4 separate regions of the Homo sapiens genome follow, and all the other regions are linked to region 1. Evidence: promoter capture Hi-C in 16 types of primary human blood cells and fetal thymus (Javierre and others, 2016). All regions are on one chromosome and are shown on one strand. The core of a region is centred on a gene start or on the middle of the fragment in contact, and the rest is flanking DNA. Distances in the headings are between cores, read along the strand shown.

The links. Contacts are between HindIII fragments. The CHiCAGO score rates a contact against its expected background, and 5 or more counts as called.
Region 2: a contact is called between the fragment with the promoter of APOL1 here and the fragment with the promoter of APOL6 in region 1, in 8 of 17 cell types (M0 macrophages, non-activated CD4 T cells, monocytes and 5 more). The highest score is 9.0, in M0 macrophages.
Region 3: a contact is called between a fragment that was not itself captured here and the fragment with the promoter of APOL6 in region 1, in 3 of 17 cell types (naive CD4 T cells, erythroblasts and M1 macrophages). The highest score is 6.3, in naive CD4 T cells.
Region 4: a fragment that was not itself captured here is called in contact with the fragment with the promoter of APOL6 in region 1 in 12 of 17 cell types (activated CD4 T cells, naive CD4 T cells, non-activated CD4 T cells and 9 more); the score reaches 11.7 in activated CD4 T cells.

What each region holds. Positions count from the first base shown.
Region 1 is chr22:35,646,584-35,650,211 of GRCh38, forward strand. It overlaps APOL6 (apolipoprotein L6), which reads left to right and starts at 1,863. Exons shown (of 3, transcript NM_030641.4): 1 at 1,863-2,040. RefSeq lists an enhancer at 1,568-1,867. The HindIII fragment of the contact is 8,876 bases long and covers 1-2,998 here.
Region 2 is chr22:36,251,383-36,255,010 of GRCh38, forward strand. APOL1 (apolipoprotein L1) reads left to right here and starts at 1,751. Exons shown (of 6, transcript NM_003661.4): 1 at 1,751-1,837; 2 at 3,555-3,617. The coding sequence starts at 3,574. RefSeq lists enhancers at 1,804-1,863, 3,613-3,628. The HindIII fragment of the contact is 9,856 bases long and covers 181-3,628 here.
Region 3 is chr22:36,180,983-36,184,610 of GRCh38, forward strand. No RefSeq gene overlaps it. Among named protein-coding and RNA genes, the nearest start is that of APOL4, 19 kb to the right of the region's middle. The HindIII fragment of the contact is 2,220 bases long and covers 857-3,076 here.
Region 4 is chr22:36,158,660-36,162,287 of GRCh38, forward strand. It overlaps APOL3 (apolipoprotein L3), which reads right to left and starts at 2,096. Exons shown (of 4, transcript NM_145639.2): 1 at 2,010-2,096. RefSeq lists enhancers at 3,015-3,588, 3,540-3,628. The HindIII fragment of the contact is 248 bases long and covers 1,768-2,015 here.

The DNA of each region.
Region 1 (3,628 bases), core at 613-3,112:
AGGGGCCTTCAGGCAAGTTTGTTTCTTTTCAGCAGGTCTTGGGTCCCTTGAGGGAAGGGAAGTGGACTCTAGGAAATTAAGCGACTCCCTACTTTTGTTCATCTGAGCTATAGGGTGGATGTTTTCTGTCCCCTTACATAAGCAGCACTTCCTGCATTTGGCTACAGAACATTTTTCTCACATGGCATCTCTTGGGGCGATTGTTTCACAAGAGCCCTGGTGGTAAACACTGCCCCCATCCAATGGCCGGTCTGGCCCCTGAGACTCCCAGGACCGAGCAGTGACCACAACATCTGGGTCCGTTGCCAGGGAAAACAACAGGCAGGCCTGGGATGGCTCAGCGGCCCCAGCCAGGCAGCCAAGTCCTCCTCAAGGTCAGGCTGTGTTTAGCGTGTTCCCCAAGTGTGGGAGGCCAGGAGCAGGGGTGGGTTGTGGAATCCGGGATGCCACGGTTGGAAAGGCCCCTACAAGACCCAACTCAGCAGCCCTTAACCCCTCATTCCTGCTCGTAGGGCCCAGGGACAGGAGGTGGCCTCTATCACAGCAAAGCCAGGACTGGCTAGGTGGGCCGCACCTTCTGCAAAGCAACAGCCTCCAATGTGGTCTCAGCTAGGGGTGGTGACTGGGGACTTCTGGGCATATAAATACAAACAAACCACATGGCTTCTGATCACAATTTGACACAAATGCTAGAGAGACACAGATCTCAGCCCGTAACCTCACTGTGGGCTCATTCTTGTAGACACAGAGCCTAGGACTGGTTCTTAGCTGTGTAATCACAAACAACCCACAACTTCTAGAAGCCTGGGTTTCCTCTTCCTTAAAGTGGGAGACAGAGTATCACAATCCTATATCTCCAATCCTTGAGGCCAGATGCATGTCAGAGTTCCTGATTTGGGGGATTTTTAGAAAGGTAATGGGGTGCAGGTATCGTGTACTATGTAACCCACGCACCCGCAGCAGCCCTCCTCAGTCAAACATATTAATATTTCTGCAGTGACTGTAAATATTCAAATTAAGCAGGAGACATAAAAACCACAGGTGAATTCATGCCAGATCAGGTCAGGTTTTGCCACTAAATGAATAAATTATCATTTTTTTTTAAGTTTTCATTCTGAGGCCAGGTGCGGTGGCTCACGCCTGTAATCCCAGCACTTTGGGAGGCCTAGATGGATGGATCATTTGAGGTCAGCAGTTTGAGACCAGCCTGGCCAACATGGCAAAACCCCATCTCTACTAAAAATACAAAAATCAGCCGGGCGTGGTGGCAGGTGCCTGTAATCTCAGCTACTAGGGAGGCTGAGACAGGGGAATAGCTTGAACGTAGGAGGCGGAGGTTGCAGTGAGCCGAGATCGTGCCATTGCACTCCAGCCTGGGCAACAGAGCGAGACTTCATCTCAAAAAACAATAATAATAATAATAATAAAATAAAGTTTCCATTTTCAGAGGATTCTGCATTCAGAGTTATTAGCCCTTTAATGCTGTGCACCTCATAGGGTTGTTACCCACATCAGCGTCACGTAAGATGCTGTGGAGGAAAGCAGTTTCAGAACAATCAGTGATGACAGCTACTGTGAATCCACTATTCAACAGGCGCCCCATCGCTTGCTCATGGGCTCCTCACCATAGCTCTAAGCCACAGGAGCTATTTTCATACCCCATATAGGTCCATCCTATAACACAGCCAGGACAGAGACGAGAGACTCAGGCCTCCTGACTTGGATTCTGCTCTTTCACCTCCTTGTTCATCCAATTAGAGAAACTGGCAAAAAGGAAACTGAAAGTGACAGCTGGAGCCCATGATTTCCTGGAAGAGCCCTAGAGCTTTGCTTTTTCTCTCCTGCAGCACTTAACCGAAACCAGTTTTGCAATCAATTCCTGTTCAAAGGCCACCCTACTCTTCCTATCCGTCTTTCTCCAGCCCAGACACTCACAGCCCCCTGCCAGACCAGGGGACCTCGGAGAGGCAAGGACAGAGGTTCAGGATCTTCCTCTCCCTCGGGACCCAAGGCCACAAAGGAGAGCTCCGTGGAGAGAAGGTGAGACGGCGGGCAGAAGTCGGGGGAGGAGGGGGCTGCCGCTCTGGTCCCTGAAGGACAGAGCCCCCAAGGGGTTGGCTTTAGGCACCTGACTCAGGGAAAAGAGCTGCTGTGAAAGCAGCGGGGTTCAAATGCCAGCCAGAGCTTGAGGAGAGTCTGAGGATTAACTTCTCCTGTGTTAATCCTGGTAGGTTTCCCTCCCTTACAGCCATTTCAGGGTTAAATTGAAACATGCTAAAGCATGCGATGTGACTAGCCAAGTTGCATTTGTCCCTCCACTGCTGGGGATCCGAGGGCTTAGGCAGAGGGGACCTGGCCCTTAGAAAGCAGATGATTACATCAGCCACAGGCGTTTCCCTAGAAATTCAGTAGAGGAGTGGTTTAGGGGTGTCATCTCACAAGAAAAAAGGTGCTGGGTGAGTTGTCTAGAAACTGCAAAGCCAACCTACAGAGTTTTCTAGATTGTAGATTTATGTGAAGTTGTTTGGGGAAGAGGGTGAGGGAGTTTGTGATAAATATTAGGGCGACTAGGCCAGGCGCAGTGGCTCATGCCTGTAATCCCAGCATTTTGGGAGGCTAAGGCAAGCGGATTGCTTGAGCCCAAGAGTTTGAGACCAGCATGGGCAACATAGTGAGACCCCGTCTCTACAAAAAATCAAAAAATAGCTGGGCGTGATGGTGCACACCTGTAGTCCCAGCTACTTGGGAGGGTGCTGAGGTGGAAGGATCACTTGAACCCAGGAAGTCAAGAATGCAGTGAGCAGTGATCGCACCACTGCACTCCAGCCTGGGCAACAGAGTGAGACCCGGTCTCAAAAAAAAAAAAAAAAATCTAGGGAGGTTATCTTGAAGCTGTGTTTTCAAAGTAAGCAGATTTTTCTTACTTAGATTGTGTATCTGCAGAAGTTGGTTTTGTGGGGGAAGGCAGGTAAGGAAAGACTGTCATAAATATCCTGTAAGCTTTCAAATGAAAGTAAGTTCTCAAATCCTCTTCCAATAAACCTCTCACAAGCAAATCCTCTCGCAACCACCAAGAGCAGGTCAGAGGGGATGGAATGGGACCTGCTTAGATGAGTTTCCTGCTGTTACCTTTGCCCTGCATCCCATAGGACTAATGTAAAAAAATGAGAGAGGTATTGGCGGACGCTGGTAAAAAATGGGGTTCCAGACCAGAGTCTCTTACCCCCAGCAACCTTGTCATGTTCAACCAGGTGATCCCTGGTTGTGGGGGCTGTCCTCTGCATCGTAGGGTGCTTGGCAGCATCCCTGGCCTCTGCCCTCTACATACCAACAGCAGTACCCTCTCCAGCTGAGACCATCAAAAATGTTTCCAGATATTAGCAGTGTCCCTGAGGAGCAAACACGCCCTGTTTGGGACCAACTACTCCAGACTCTGCGTGGCTGGAATTGCACAGGCTTTCCTGCTTACTGTGTGACACTGGCCTCCCTATGTCTCAGTTTGCACCTCTGTAAAATGGGCATCATCTTAGCACCGATCTCACTGGGTCACTGTGTAAAGCAGGTAGATGTATGTCTGGTGAAAGTAAACTCTTAAAGGTGCCAAGCCCCCTAAACCAAACCTAGCTTC
Region 2 (3,628 bases), core at 501-3,000, 600 kb after region 1:
AAATAACAAGACTTCTGCCCACCCTCAGAAAAATGCACATATGCCTGCTTCCTCTACTCTATGTTCATTTTTATCTTATATAAAATGTAGACGAACTGTGCATGAGACGAATGAATAATTGACTGTTCCTCTACCCCCTCCTTTCATAGACAACCTGTGGATTCAAGGAGGGCTAATCAAAGCTTCACAAGAATGTGACCACTCACCTCATTACCTATCCTGTCTTTTTTCCTTTCCTCCTTCCACTCCTGCCTGATTTTACACATTTAAATACTGGAGGCCTCAAAACCCTCTGTGAAAAACGAGTGGACCCCAGAACCTCCTGTGACTTGTGTGACTTTTTCCTGGGTGCATCCTCAACCTTGGCAGAGTAAACATCTAAACTGACTGAGACGTGTCCCAGACCCTCTTTGGTTTACAAGTCTTGCCTCCTCCCTGAGTTGCTGGATGAAAGCAACGTCCTCTCTTCTTGCCTCAGTTTCCTCATCTGCAAAATCAGATCATAATCCTGGCCCATTGAGGGGATGATTATAAAACTCAATCAAATGGAGAAGCATTTGCAAATGGAATGTATTGCAAAGTGTATTGTGCAGTCCCTGTGTAATCACCATTCTCTTCCTGCCTCATAAGCTGGTGTGTGTGTGTGTATGGGTGGGGTGAGGTGGACACGATGCCCCCAGAGATGTTTGCTCAGGATGAAATAGGCCCCCATGGAAGGGTCAGGTTGGCTTCTGTGGTTTAGCTGCCTTTGAGGCCCTTCTGCCTGGGGCAAAGCACAAAAGTCCAATAGCAATCTGGTTGCATGACTTCCTAGTCATGGAAGTGTGGCTGAGCAGTGGTCTCTAGTCCCTCCACCCTGTGTGCCTCGGGAGTGGAACACGGGGCAGTGGCCTCTGCTGGGGAGGATGCTGGGGGATCTCTGAAAGGAGGCAATGCCTGATTTTGTCACTGAACGATGAGCATGATTTTTCCAGGCGGTGGAAGCAGGTGCTCCCGGCAGAAGACCCCATATAAGCAAATATCTAGAAGCCACAAGGCATGGCCTTCAACAAGAGCAGGCCTGGTGCGGTGGCTCATGCCAAGGTGGGAGGATCACTTGAGGCCTGGAGTTCAAGAGTAGCCCAGTCAATATAGTGAGGCACCATCTCTAATATAATTTTTTTAAAAATTAGCTGGGTGGTTGGCTGATACCTGTAGAACCAGCTACTCAGGAGGCTGAGGTGGGGGGATGGCTTAAGCCCAGGGGTTTGAAGCTGCTGTGCGCGATGACTGTGGCACTGCAATTCAGTCTTGGTGACAGACTGAGACCCTGTCTCAAAAACATAACCAAAATAACCCCAACGGCATTACAATAAATATACAATAAGCATCCACAAGGCATGTGTGGGAGACTGTGCTTATGCCGATGGCACGGGCAGGAGTAAGGCAGGCATCAGGGGAATGTGGATGCACGGGAGGATGGGGAGTAATCTGCAGGGTCCCATAGTATGTCAGTGGCAGGTCTTTCTCCTTGAGACCACAGCAGACCCCCAGCCCTGAGGATGCGAGGCAGGTGGGTTGGATGAGAGGGATCTGGATGTCTGGTCTCAGGCTGCTCCTCTAAGGGCAGCAGCAAGGAGGGTGGGGCTGGACTGAAGGTGGAGGGGAGCGTGTTTGCTGTGCTTGGTCATGAGCTGCTGGGAAGTTGTGACTTTCACTTTCCCTTTCGAATTCCTCGGTATATCTTGGGGACTGGAGGACCTGTCTGGTTATTATACAGACGCATAACTGGAGGTGGGATCCACACAGCTCAGAACAGCTGGATCTTGCTCAGTCTCTGCCAGGGGAAGATTCCTTGGTAAGTTGGGGACAGTTGACCTGCCTCCATCTTATTCTCACAGCTTTTGTAGATAAGCTGGGAGAGGTTAGGTGACTGGTTCAGATAGACAGGAAAGTAGCGGCAAAGCCTGGATTTGCACCCAGGCTTGAGTCTGATTGCTTCCCCTCTCCTGCTGGGCTCTTAAACTATAGAGGGTTGGGGAAACAGCTCAGATGGGTTCACAAAGCTCCCTGGGCTCAGCCCTGGTTTTGACTGCTGAGACACGACTGAGTGAACCCAGAAGGAAGGTTTGTGTTGGGGGTGCCCATCTCTTTGGGAAATTTGAAGGAACCAAAGAAGGTGGAGGAGAGGAGGTGACCCAGATCCCAGCCTGTTCTTATGGCCAGGCCACACCAAGGCTGGCCCCAGGGTGCTGCTGCTGAGGCCCAATGGGGGCAACAGAATTTTTTTTCAGGTACAAGGAGTTCAGAGGTCATCTCACCCACCCTGAGTCTGAGCACCAACTTGTGCCAGGCCCTGTGGGGAAACTGAGGCCCTGGGAGCGGAATGACTTGCCCAGGGTCCCGTGTCAGGAGGCTGAGCAGGTAGATCATAGGACTCCACGTCTCTGGCCCTCACCTCTGTCCCTCTGTTCAGACTTCTGGGGTGATGGAGAAGAAACAGGCTGTGCTGTGTCCCTAATGGGAAACGTGGCTGAGACAGGGGAGTGAGAAGGGTGCGTTGCAGAATGGTGCCTGTGGCATGATGCCAGCTTTGCAATCATGAGATTCAAAAGCCACACTGTGGAATTGTGAGTATAACTACAGGAGTGAGAGCTTAGATCTCTGTGTTCATAGAAGGAGAATCAAACCTGGAAACTTTTGGATTATTAAAATCAAACATTTTTGCTTCAATATTAGAGTCACAAGGGCAGATGTTGGCCTCCCCTCTGCCCTCCAAGAGCTGTGTGACTCTGGGAAATTCACCTCCCCTCCCAGCCTGAGTATTTTCCCCTGTAAAAAACCTGATAGAGCTGCCAAAAGTCCATGAAATCAGGGGGGTAATTTCTGTGAAATCTGAGTCATGGTCTTATTTGTTCTTCACCAAAAAGAGATGATGAAGCCTGTAACCCCAGTGCTGTGGGAGGCAGAGGCGGGAGGATGACTTGAGGCCAGGAGTTCAAGACAGCCTGGGAAACACAGGAGATGCTGTCTCTATGAAATCAAAAATTAACAAATTAGCCCAGCATGGTAGTGTGTACCTGTAGTCCCAGCTACTCAGAAGGTTGAAGGAGGCGGATCACTTGAGCCCAACAGATCTAGGCTGCAATGAGCTAGGATGGTGTCAAAGCCCTGCAGCCTGGGTGACAGAGCAAAACTGTTTATTAAAAACTAAACGAAAGGCCGGGCGCGGTGGCTCACGCCTGTAATCCCAGCACTTTGGGAGGCCAAGACAGGTGGTCACGAGGTCAGGATATCGAGACCATCCTGGCTAACATGGTGAAACCCTGTCTCTACTAAAAATACAAAAAAATTAGCCGGGTGTCGTGGCGGGCACCTGTAGTCCCAGCTACTCGGGAGGCTGAGGCAGGAGAATGGCGTGAACCCGGGAGGCAGAGCTTGTAGCGAGCCTAGATCGCCCCACTGCACTCCAGCCTGGGTGATAGAGCGAGACTCCATTTCAAAAAAAAAATGAAATGAAAATGGTGATTTCTCAGGAGGAGCACACTGTCTCAACCCCTCTTTTCCTGCTCAAGGAGGAGGCCCTGCAGCGACATGGAGGGAGCTGCTTTGCTGAGAGTCTCTGTCCTCTGCATCTGGTGAGCTTGGC
Region 3 (3,628 bases), core at 717-3,216, 530 kb after region 1:
TGTGTGGTTGTGCCACCCCGGGAGGCGGGCTTGGCTAGGAGACCTTCCATTCACCCTTGTATAAGGTAGGCAGTCTTTACTGGGACAGTCTGCTTTCTGGCGATGGCCTCTGCTCGTTGCAATGTCCTATACATGGCCAATAGCTGCTGCTCCAGCACTGTAAAGTGAGATTCTGCTCCCTTCCACAGTTGAGACTGAAACCCTACAGGTACCATTCCTGTGGGTTGCATTTGCGACAAACTCCAACTCAGGTCAGTGGCGTCTCTAGTGACTTCCAGTACAAGAGGGTGCTGTGGTCATGAGGCTCCTGTTGCTTGAGCTTGTTTCACCCATATTTTGTTTTGTCAGAAGCCTCTTGCTCCATATCTGTCCAGTCCCATTTGTTTCACCTTTCTTTATTAGAGTGTATAATGGGCAAAGGGATTGTGCCAAATGAGGAATGAATATCCTCCAGTAGCCCAGTAAACCTAGGAAAACCTGCAGTTGCTTTACTGTCTGAGGAACAGCATGGATGCGGGCTTGATGGTCCCCTGGGGCCCATCGGAGTCTCTTCCCAGGAAATTGGAGGACCTGAAGGAAAACCCTTAGAGGCAGCAGGCAGTGGAGCTGAGGCCTGAAGAGGAGCTGGTTTCCCACTGCTGACACCCCTGAGGCTTTCCGGATCCCTGGTCTTCCCTAAACCTGGCTTTAAAATTGCCTGTGTGTGTGTGTGTGTGTGTGTGTGTGTGTGTGTGTCTGTCCATACATGTGTGTGTGCACACCCATAGATTTCTTTATTTATTTAATTCTGTGAGCTTTCTCTCTGGATTCTTCCAATACATGTCTCTACTGCAGAGTTAGCCAGAGGATTTTAAAAAGCTTTCGCTTCACTTTTGTTCTTGCATTTGCTTTTGACTTTGTTTTGCTTTGCGCTCTCCTTGCTTCAAAAAAAAAATGTTAACTGATACAAACATTGTCCCAAAGAGTTGGTTGCAGATCACAGGCCCTCAGATGATTGGCATATTTGGAATAAGTTTTCAGGCTGAGAGGAGGGCAGAGCAACAGTGAGCCACCCCCAACCCCAGCATTCCGGGGAGCACCTGCTGTCATCTTGTGGAAAGGGGCAAGGAACGCTGGGACCTGAAGCAGGATAGGTCACTTCAGACAAATGCCTGGCTTTGACATTTTTCCTGAAGGCGTCTGATAAATTGTGGCTGTTGATATTTTTGGCTGACTTTCCTATGAAAAGCAAATTCTGTAGGTTTCTGGTTACATGATAAATTTCGTCCTCGCCAGATCTTCTAAGCGCACATGAGGGCCCTGATAGGGAGAGAGTGGTGTGTTAGCTCCTCCCCTGCTGTAACAAAGCACCACAGACACAGTGGCTCAAACCAACACGAAGTTCTTCTGGAGCTCAGAAGTCCTAAAATCAAGGTGTGGGCAGAGCTGCGTTCCTTCTGGAGGCTCTGGAAGAAGAAGCCATTCCATTGCCTCTTCCAGCTCTTGGAGGAAACTGCTGGCCTTGGCTCCTGTCTCCTTCCTTCCTCTTCAAAGTCAGCCTTGTAGCATCCTCCGATCTCTCCCAGTCTCTCTCCCCTTCTATCATCTCATCTCCTTTTCTCCCTCTCACCCTACTGTCTCTGCCTTAGAAGGACCCTTGTGGTTACATTGGACCCACTTAAAGAATCCCAAATAATCTCCCATCTCCAGATCCTTATCTGGACGATAACTGCAAGGTCCCTTTTATGATGGAAGGTGATATAATCGCAAGTCCCAGGGTTAGGACATGCACATCTGTAGGGGGCTGTTATTCAGCCTAAAACAAGTTGCATCAAGAAAATTACGATGGGGATATCAAGGAGTTTGAAGAATCCCAACTCGTAGCCATGTCTAAGGGCTTTTCTGAGGTACAGGCCCCGCTAGAGGAAGCTGCTCCAACTCTGTTCCTGTCTGCTCCTGCCCCACTCTCTGTTTCTAGACAGCCTGCGTTCAAGTCATTGTGGCCCAAGACTGAACTGCAGAATGGAAAGGAGTGAGGCGCTGCAGCAGAAGGAGCTCGCTGTCAAAGCTCCAAAGAGCCGGAGACCATTTGCAGGGTGGGGTCTGAGGGAGGTTGGCAAGGAAAGGGGAGCATCATGTGGATTCCTTTCCATAGTTGTCATGAGCTAACACACTTCGCCCCAACAGCTGGCTTAGATTCTAATTGTGCCCAGGACTGGCCATGCAACCCTTGAGTAAATGCTGGCCACCTCTCTATGACACCAAAAGGCCAGAAATTACCTGGCATGATAAAGAAGAAGGAGTCAAGTGTATAGGAGACCGGAGGGTTAGACTGGATTTCTCAGGCGCTTTCTGCCCTGACTGTGTGCTGCCAGGGCCCAGGAGATTCCCCTTTCCTTTGATGAGAAGAATCAGTGGATATTCTCTAGAGCTCTCTAGAATGGGGGAGGGGCTAGGACCCTGGTCTCTTTAGGGTGGGAGAAATTCCAAGAGGCAAACCCTAGGGTGAGGCAGGTGGTGGCCAGAAGAAAAGAGTGTGGACACCAGGTCAAGAAGCAGGGAGGGCGCATGATCTGGGCTCAGGGACGTTCCACATGCAGAATCCAGCAACAGAGCTGGTGGACAGTCTACTGACTTCGCAAAACCCCCAGTCTGGTGAGCAGGCACCTGTCACAGGTCATCATGCTGGATGGCCCCTGCTTGTCACTCAATTCTCAGGCCTGACTCATAGCACAGACCCAGAGCCCTTGAAGGAAAGGGAGGCCAGGAGTCTGCAAAAGGCCCCGTCATTTCCCATAAGTGCAGCCTGTGAGCGTTCCTCCTACCTGTTCTCCCTGGACCTGGAGCGTCCCCTCAGATCACAGGGGACGGCTTAAAGGAAACCCATCCCCAGGACTGTTGGATCCCATCCAGACTGACACCAATTCCTGGGACCCATAATGACCCAGAGTGCCACTGTGGTGTTCCAGTCAGAGGGGGGGTTACAGGGAACAAGTAATGAATGAATATCTGATTTCAGTTTACTTTTCAATAAGTCTATCACCTGGTTATTATTTTTTAAATTCCTGGGTGGATAACTGGAATGCATATTCTTGGAAGCTTCAGATTGTTCACGTAGACCCACGGATGATGACTATTTCAGTGACAGACGCCGGTGGAAGCCGTTGGTTTTACATACCTGCCTAAATATTTTAATCAGAGTCAACAGCAAATTCATGGAGGAGTTAGAGAGATTGCTGCCATCATCAAGGTTTAAAGGGAGCAGAAGCAGTGATTCCTGTGACTCACCTGTTCACCTCTTCAATGCAGCCAGTCGTCAGCAGGGAAACAACTGTTTGTCTTCCAACAGCAGAACAAAGCAGGAAGCTCATCAGTAGAAGCTGCCATTCCTAAGGTGTTCTTGTTAATGAAGCAAATAAACACAGCCTGCAGCTCTCAGTCTCTATCAATCAGGCTTCTTGGTCAAGCAGAGGTACCATCTCTGGTTTTTAAGGGCAGAAAACAACATGAAATTCACTGGAATCATATCAGAAGAGCCCCACCTGCAGAGGAGGCTGGAGTTTGGCTTGGAAGATAAAAAGAAGCCAAGACAGTGACACGGTATCAAGGCTGCGAGCACAAGAGCCCTGCTTTGTGAGGAGTGACACGG
Region 4 (3,628 bases), core at 642-3,141, 510 kb after region 1:
ATACTAAAAATTAGCCGGGCGTGGTGGCACGCCTCTGTAGTCCCAGCTACTCAGGAGGGTGAGCTGGAGAATCACTTGAACCCAGGAGGCGGAGGGTGCAGTGAGCCGATGGTGCTACTTGCACTCCAGCCTGGGCGACAGAGCAAGACTCCGTCAGAAAAAAAAGACTAATGAATGCGATGCCTCCCTTAAAGAAATGAGGAGGAAAAGAAGCTGCACAGAATCAAAGACCCTTCGAGGCCACGACACAGAGGTGAGAAACACAGGGCTCCATGAAGTGAAATCTGAATAGCAGGTGTGAGTGTGCGTGTGTGTGTGTGTGTGTGTGTGTGAATTTGTGAGTGTGTGTGTGGCATATGCAAGGTTTGCCTTTTATTTGGTTGCCAGCATGTCAAATGTAATTGCACCTGAGTTTATAGCAAATGTTCCGTCATCTGAGCTCTGAGGAGCCAGGCCCACCCTCTCACCTGCTGGGCATCACCTGGATCTGAGAAGCCCATGCAGGCCTCCAGCTCTCCCCACTTTCCTGCAGCCCCTGCAGGCATCTGGGCTGCAATGTCAACTTTCCCCTGACTCGCACTGCCCCGCCTCCCACCTCACCCCAGATGGGGTCAGCAGCCTGCTGGGGGTCAGCAGGGTAGGGCATCCTAACCCCCTAAGGCAGGTGAAAAACCCTGAGGCTCAGAGAGGGGAAGTGACTTCCCCAGTGTCACACACCTCTTGGAGGGCAGGGGGAAGGTCAACACCTGACCTCCTGACTCTGACATTGAAGCAAGAAAGTATAATGTTAATAATCCAAAATCTTCCAGGTTTGTTTCTGCTTCTACAAACACAGAGGGCTAAGCTCACGCTCCCACAGTTATGCTCACGCTTCCACAGTTTGACTTTTAATCTCATGATTGTCAAGCTGGGATCATGTGGCAGACACCATTCTGCAACATGCCGTTCTCACTGCCCCTGTCTGGGCCATCTTTCCCACTAGGGAACAGCACAGCTTCTTTCTTCTCTATCACCCAGAGGCCTGAAAAGGAACCAGGTGAGTGTCAGGGACATGGAGTCCTGTGATCTACCTGCTCAACTTCCTGACATGGGACCCTCAGCGAGTCACTCATCTCCCATGGCCTCAGTTTACCCACAGGGCCTGGCTCAAGTAGGTGCTCAGAGTCAGGGTGGGTGAAACAACCTCTGGGTTCCTTGTTATCTCTTTTCGCTCTCTCTCTCTTTTTTTTTTTTGAGACAGAGTCTCACTCTGTCAGGAGTGCACTCAGGCTGGAGTGACTGGTGCGATCTCGACTCACTGCAACCTTCATCACCTGGGTTCAAGTGATTCTCATGCCTCAGCCTCCCAAGTAGCTGGGATTACTGGCTTGTGCCACCACGCCCAGCTAATTTTTTGTATTTTTAGTAGAGGCAGGGTTTCTCCATATTGGCCAGGCAGGTCTCGAACTCCTAACCTCAAGTGATCTACCCGTCTCGGCCTCTCAAAGTGCTGGGATTACAGGCATGAGCCACCGCGCCCAGCCAGGTTCCTTGTATCTCAAAGGAAATCCTCTGTCCCCATCGGGCCTCAGCAGCAGCACCCTGGGGCCAGCCTCAGGGTGGCCAGGCCACAAGAAGGACAGGCCAGGCTCTGGATCACCTCCTGTCCTCCACCTTCTCTGGTTCCTCCAAATATTCTAAAGGAATGGACAGTCCCAACATCTGCCTTCCTTCTGGGGTCACCGGGCCATGTCTCACGCAGGCTGGAACTAGAGCTGAGCCCTAGGAAGCTTTGTGAACCCAGCTGAGCTGATTCTGCCTCTGTCTCTACTGTTTGGGGGCCCAGAGAGAGGGAGGGAGAAGTCCAGCTAAAACCTGGGTGCAAATTCAGGCTCTGCCATGGACCGAGATGTGACCTCAGTCAGTTACCTAACCTCTCTGAGCTCATCTACAAAAGGTGAATGACCCTTCTCTTATAGAGCTGCTGTGAGGATGGGGAGATGGGGAAGGTCAGACCACCCCTAACTTACCAAGGAAGCTTCTCTTGAAAGAGTGTGAGCAAGATCCAGCTGTTCTGAGCTGTGTGGATCCCACCTCCAGCCGTGCATCTGCATAATAACCAGACACGTTCTCCAGGCTCTGAGATATACCCTGGAACCCAAAAGGGAAAGTGAAAGTCACAACTTGGCAGCAGCTCCTGATCAAACATGCAAAACAGGATGCTTCCCAGCCCCACCCTTGGCCCAGTCCCATCCTTGGTCCAGCAGCACCCTTGGTCCCACCCTCCTGCTGATCCAAGAGCAGCCCCAGACGTCCTTCTTGGCCAACCCACCTGCCTCCCATACTTAGGGTTGGGGGTTTGCTGTGTCTTCAGGAAGAAAGACCTACCACTGAAAGACTATGAGACCCTCCAGATTACTCCCCACCCCCAATAACACCACACTCCCCAGATGCCCACCTCACTCCCTCCATGCCATCAGCATTACCACAGTCCATCACACATGCCGGGTGGACGCTTATTGCATATTGATTGTATTGCTGTTGGGGTTATTTTGTTGTTTTGTTTTGTTTTGTTTTTGAGATGGGGTCTGGCTCTGTCACCCAGGCTGGAGTGCGGTGGCACAATAATAGCTCACTGTAGCCTCAAATTCCAGGGTTCAAATGAACCTCCTGAGTAGCTGGGACTACAAGCATGAGCCACTCGGCCTGGCTACTTTTAAAAAATGATTTTGAAGGGGTGAAATCTTACTATTTTTACCAGGTTGGTTTCAAACTCTGGCCTCAAATGATCCTCCTGCCTCAGCATGAGCCACCGTTCCAGACCTGCTCTTGTCGAACGCCATACCTGTGTGGCTTCTGGACACTTCCTTATGTGGGTTCTTCTGCCAGGAGCACCTGCTACCTTCACCTGGAAAAGTCACGCTCCTCTATCAGAATGCAAATCTAGCATTTCCTCCCCTGAGAAGCCCCCTAGCATCCTCTTCAGCAGAGCCCACTGCCCCATGTTCCACTCCTGTGGCACTTTTGTTAGGCTGTTGTAATTGGCCACAGTCCCAGGTTGACTGAACAAAGTGGGGGGCGGATGTGGGAGTAAAAGACAAAGACAAAAGAGTATATTAGGAAGAAGGGGTCAGGGGGTTCCTTGCTTCTAGTGAACAAGGGCTCTGAGCTTTTCAAGCTCTCTGAGTTTATTAGGTAAAAGAGATGACGAGAAAAAGGTGGGGGGGTGATTGTCAGGTAATTGTCAGTCAGCCGTTTGGTTCACAGCAGGCTTGCAAGACTGCATCCTTCAAATAATAGGTGCTAGATATCCCAACAGATAACTTCAAGGAGCCCAGCACCAGGGAGTGATGGCCCTCAGGAAACCTTCTGGCGGCGGGTGCAGTGTGAGTTTACCCACATCCCGCATTCATGATAAACAGTTTGCTGTTTGATCATATAGCCTCCAGTGAAATGCTGAGTTGGTCACAATCCCTTTGGCCTTTTCAGCTCCCAACAGGCAGTTAAGTAGACATTAGCAGCTGGGAGGAGAAAAGAGAGCAGAAAGCCTGTCACTGCAACAGCTCCTGGCCCACCTAAGTTCAGCCCCAGAGCCATTCTAAGACCCCCCTAACTGATGAAGTTGGTGGTATAGTTTGTGGCCAGCACA